Linked DNA regions of Homo sapiens: region 2 is linked to region 1. The links are contacts of gene promoters, found by promoter capture Hi-C in human tissues and cell types (Jung and others, 2019). All regions are on one chromosome and are shown on one strand. The core of a region is centred on a gene start or on the middle of the fragment in contact, and the rest is flanking DNA. Distances in the headings are between cores, read along the strand shown.

What was found. The method cuts DNA at HindIII sites, captures the fragments that hold promoters and counts their contacts. A contact is called where the count stands out against the background at its distance.
Region 2: a contact is called between a fragment that was not itself captured here and the fragment with the promoter of ADAM12 in region 1, in 1 of the 25 tissues and cell types used here (mesenchymal stem cells).

The regions. Positions count from the first base shown.
Region 1 is chr10:126,387,061-126,389,788 of GRCh38, forward strand. ADAM12 (ADAM metallopeptidase domain 12) reads right to left here and starts at 1,417. Exons shown (of 23, transcript NM_001288973.2): 1 at 998-1,417. The coding sequence starts at 1,085. The HindIII fragment of the contact is 8,947 bases long and covers 1-2,728 here.
Region 2 is chr10:126,149,714-126,152,441 of GRCh38, forward strand. The region is part of intron 4 of ADAM12 (ADAM metallopeptidase domain 12); the gene reads right to left. Among named protein-coding and RNA genes, the nearest start is that of FANK1-AS1, 180 kb to the left of the region's middle. The HindIII fragment of the contact is 3,274 bases long and covers 1-2,728 here.

The DNA.
Region 1 (2,728 bases), core at 167-2,666:
ACGGTTCGTGATTTAGGCCAGTTGTTGAAAAATAAATGCCTGTTATATAGAATCACAGAACTTGAGAGCTTGCGGCCAAGGGAAGTCGTTCATCGGTGGACCGACAGCGCCCCGGGCGGCAGAAAGAAGGCGGCGGCGGCGGAGACCCGGGGAAGTTGCCGGATTTTTAAAAAGGCACCTGCTGGGTGAGTCCTCACTGTGCAAACGGGAGCCACAGGTGCCCGATTTTAAGGGGCTACAACTCGGGAAAACCTAAGTCTGTAAAACTAAGTACGTTAAACTAAGTAAGTTCTCGCTGTGCACCAAGTTGATGGGGGCGATTATTTACGGCGGAGAAACTGAGTGGAGGAAGGAGGGAGAATTCCGCTAAAGTTTGCCTGCGACTGACAGCTAGGGAGTGACCTGGAAGCCAGGAAGAGGGGCAGAGAGGAAACTAAAGAAGTAGGTAAGAGAGTCAGTTTATGAAAATAGAGCCTGCTGTGGAGAGCAGCAGGCACACCTGCGGAGGAGGGGGCTGCCTCACCTGCGGGGCCGCTGCGCGCCCCCCTAAGTGTGTTAGCGGGGGAGGCGGGGCTGGAAAGGAAACCTGGTGAAGGGCTGGCCCGGAGCCTGGGGTGGGGATATTCACTGCGGGATAGGGCCAGCAAGAGGACCCGACACGCATCGTCCCGAGTGACACGTGTAAATGTCAAGATACAGAGACATCTGCAAATGTCACCCAAGAGGGTGAGGACGGGGGAGCGGTCCCGAGGCTGTGCCCTCCGGGGCAGGTACTGGCTCCTGTGGGGCTGCGGGCCAAGTGTCGCCCTTCCCCAAGGAATTGGCACCTGGGGGGGGGGGGTCGGTCTCGCCGCGCTGGAAGCGCAAGCCCCGGGGCTCCGGAGATGCGCCGGGGCGCGTCGCCCCTCGGGGCAGCCCTGGACCTCGGCGCGCCCAGGCGCAGCGTGCGGTGCCCTCGGCGGGGCGGGCAGCGAGCCGCCCTAGTTCGGCGACTTACCTCGGGCCTCGCAGGGCGCGAGCAGAGCACCGGCCAGGGCGAGCAGGAGGGCGCGGGCGGGGGACACGGGCAGCGGGCGCGCTGCCATCGTCGCCGGCCTTCAGTGCAGCAGCTCTCGGGCCCGGCGGCGAGCGCTGCACCATCCCACGCGGGCGCCGAGCCGGGGCCGGGCGTCGCGACCGGAGGGATTTCCTGCCTCGGCGAGTCAGCTCCGGAGCCCTCGCGCAGCGCCCGCGCCGCCGCTGAGCTCTTCTAGCCTTTCATTTTTAAAAAAGTTTCCCCCCGTGTGTGTGCGTGCGTGCGCGCGCGCGCGCCGTTCTGGCACAAGCCAGCCTTGACCGTTGCAATAAATGAGCAAACTGTCCGAGTTGGCCCGGGGACTAGGAAGAGCGTTAGTGAGAGAAGGCAGGCCTGTGAAATGGATCCACGGCCAGCAGTCACCGTTCTTATTACCGCGGAACAAATTATTGTCTCCCCCGCACCCCCGCCAGTTGGCGGCGTCCCGCGGGTCCTAGAGACCGCTCGGGTCCCCCCGCCAGGGTCCCGCCCCGAGCCGCGGCTCGCTCACCCCCGAGGGTGGGCGGCTCAGACGTGGCTCAGTGGCGTCCGGGCGCCCGGAGCGCACACGTCCCCGCCCCAGGATGATGTGGCCGCAGGGCCCGGGGCGCCCGGCTGCCAAGCGCACATGCGGCGGCACGGTCCAGCTTTTCAGGCTGAAGCTGGAAACGATGACTCTGCTACTCGCTCCCCGGCTCTCTGGGAACCCTCGGAGTGCGGGTCAGGTCTCCACCGCGGCCCACAGCCCGGCGCGCGACCCCGCCCGGCCCTAAGCGCCCAAAGGGGCATCTCTCGCCCGAGAAACAAGCTTGGACTCGCAGGCACAAGACACCTGGGCGTTACTTTTGATCAACAGTGTTAGGTTTTACGTTGATAGATTGGCTCACGTTTCCATTCCATGACCTGGACCCAGAAAAGGGTGTACAGTGACGTTCCCCAAACTTTCCTGATTGTAAGAAGCACCTGGGTTGGCTTGTTAAAAAGATTCCCGGGCGCCCTCCTACGCTTTCAGAATGAGACTCTCCAGGCTGTGAGGCCAGGGGAGCCCAGGGTGTTTGGAGAAACACCAATGAAAGAATGGTGCGCCTTGCCTTCTCATCCTTGTTCCGGGCTGACCCCACCTCTTCAGCCTCGCTCGGCCCTCAGGGAGACCATGAAAAGCAGCAGCGAGGGGGCCCGCACAGACAGAAATGGCTGGAGCTATGGAGGATGGCTGATGCCCACCCTGCGGGTTACCATGATTCCCAACCTTGGGGACTTATTAGAATAGTAAGAGTTAAAGACATTGCCAGCCCCAGACACCAGTTAACTCAGTTTCCCACAATGCGTGGAGCTCAATAGTTTTCAAAGCCTCAGGTGATTCTACTGTGCTGCTCAGACCTAGGACCACCTGCAGAAATTCCATCCTGGTCCTGCGACCTCGCACCGATTCCTGACGGAGCACCCACTCCTAGGAGGCGGTTATCCAGCATTTGAGGAAGCTGCCTTCCATACCATCTCTTCCCACTGCAGAGGAGTTTTCTCAGGAGTTCCCTCCCACGGCAGGTTTTGCAGTGTTCCCAAAACCCAGGTCGATCCTCCTAACAAGGTGCAGGACTTTCTTTTTAAAAAACCTTAGTGGGAAGCACAGGCTCTCCAGCCCCCTTCCCAATGCTGCCATATCTCAGTACCAGA
Region 2 (2,728 bases), core at 59-2,558, 240 kb before region 1:
TTCAAGTTCTTCAGCTTTTGGACTCTTGGACCTACACCAATGGTTTGCCAGGGGTTCTCGGGCCTTCAGCCACAGACTGAAGGCTGCACCATCGGCTTCCCTACTTTTGAGGTTTTGGGACTTGGATTGGCTTCCTTGCTCCTCAACTTGCAGATGGCCTATTGTGAGGCCTTACCTTGTGATCGTGTGAGTCTGTACTCCTTAACAAACTCCCCTTCATATATACATCTGTCCTATTAGTTCTGTCCTTCAAGAGAACCCTGACTAATACTAATACAGATGCCTAAGAAAAAGAAAACTAGTAAGGGAGATTGTAACAGAATGCACAAAACTATTCAAATAACTTTGAATGCATATTTTACACATTCTAGAGATGTCTGTATTAGACAAGCACTGTTCACCATCATAGATCGTGGACATTTGGAAGACCGGAGCCTATTGTTGTGGTATTTCTAAGATCTCTCTTTTCTGTTTCTTTCTGAAATAACTATTTACACTGTGGAGATAGCCTCAGTGCTGAGTCTGAAAACATATTTTAAATGAGATCTTAGGGAGGTAAAAGAGGACATAAACGTCAAATGTGAACTCATGGCCCTGCCCATCACTTATTTATGACGTTGATCCACAGATCTTTACTTTAGGACTCCATCTTTCTCTGTACTCTAGGTTCTTATATATCCATCTGCCTACAGAAGACCTTTACTTGGCTGTCCTATGACAAACTCAACACAGACAAACCAAGACTCATCTCCTCTGCCTTCCAACCAACAACTGCTCCTTAATGGTACCACTGAGAAACAAATTGCCCATCCAATGGCCTAAGTGGAAGGGAAAGTCCCACTGATGACACCTCCCCCACCCTCTATCCCCTGATCCTGTCTCCTTTGACTTCCCAAGGACTCTTGACTCTGGCCAATTGCTGACCATTCCAAGGCCCAGTTCTGTAGGCAAAATTTTCACTAACTACAATGGGCCCATAAGAAATCTTCCTGTCTTCTGTCTACCAATATTCCTACCAATCTTTCTTCCATTCTGTCATCAGAGACCCTTTCTAAATCACAGAACTGAACAGGCCATTCTGCTGCATGAGAACTTCCTATGACTCCCAAATTTCAATAGGTAAAGTTGAAACTCTTTAGTATGGAAAGGTTTCATCCCCATCTTGGTCTTCTTCTTTGCCCACTTTTAAAGACCCAGATTAATGTTACTTCCTTAGTGAAATGGCGTCCAAAGAATTAAAATCAGCCACAATTAAAATACCACAGTGGTATTTTGTACACATCTCCTATTATAGTAATTACATTAAAACATGTTTTTTAAATGTCTTTAAAATGCTCTGTGCCTCTTAAGCAGGATTTATATGCTGAGGAATATATTTTAGTCAGCCTATCTCCCCATAGCCTAACAGTGTCTGCAAACAGGAGGTGCTAAATAAATGTTTGCTGAGTGAATAGATGAAGAAATGAATTTTACATGGCATCACCTAAGACAATGCAATGCTAGATGGATAATTTTATTAAAAATCTATTATATGCAAGATGCTATGTGAGGCTCTATGGGGTTAGGAAAGGGATAGATAGCATTCTCCACTCACAAAAGCTATTAAAATCACTATAAGAAACAGTATAGGTTATCACAGAAGAAATACTATCAGTTATAATACTTTTAATCTGAAGATATTAATGGATTAAATTACCTTAGTAGATATACTAATGTTGAACTATCCTTGCATTCCTCAGTTGAGTATAATTTGGTCAGAAGTATTTTTAAAATATGTACTGGATAGGGTTTGTAAAATTTACTTAGGATTTTTGCAACTACGTCCATAATTGAAACTAGTCTGTAGGATTCATTTTGTGCATGCTCTTTTTCTTGTTTTAGAAGCTCCTTCCACACCCTCCTTTAAAAAAATTATTCTTTTTTTCTCAGGAACTATTTGTTTCTTATATGTTAGTTAAAACTCACCAGCTAAATCATTTGAGTCTGAGCTTATTTTTGTCAGTAAATATTAAAAGTACTATTACAAATTTAATATCTTTATATAGTTATATTTAAATTTTCCTCTTTCACCTTGATCCAGTGTTAATAATTTTACATTTCTAAGAAATAATTAGTATTGTTCACAACATTCTTGTGATTTAAAAAATCTCTGAATAAAAATATTTATATCCCTCTTTGCATTCTTAATATTATTTACTTGGGAATTCTTTCTTTCTTAATTTTATAAATGTCTTGTCCATTTTATGAATATTTTCAAAGCACCAGCTTTTGGTTTAATTCATCTTCCCTCTTGAGTTTTTTTTTTTTTTTTTTGGTCTTCCTTTTCATTAATTTCTGCTCATTTAAAAAATCTTCATTTCTGAGAGAGGTATATTTAAATCTCCCACTCTGTGAATGTGTCCAGACATTTTCAGTGACTTGCTTTATGAATTAAGCTTATCAATTTTACATCTAGAGACTTTTCTTTTGAGGAAAAATTGTAAAATGCTGTCAGTATTGAAAGCTTTTTTGGTAACCTTCTAGGAACCAAACAAGTTTTAGCCCATAATGTCTAATCTTTAATGCTTTTTTGTTTTGTTTCGGATTTTCAGAAATCCTTTAATTAGGAGCTGGGCTAAAGCTTAGTTCTAGATGAATCTATAATTAGATTTAAAAGTTACATCTGGATTCTGCCATTTATCACTTTATATATTTTGAGACAATTTTGCTAGCATATACAGTTTCAAAA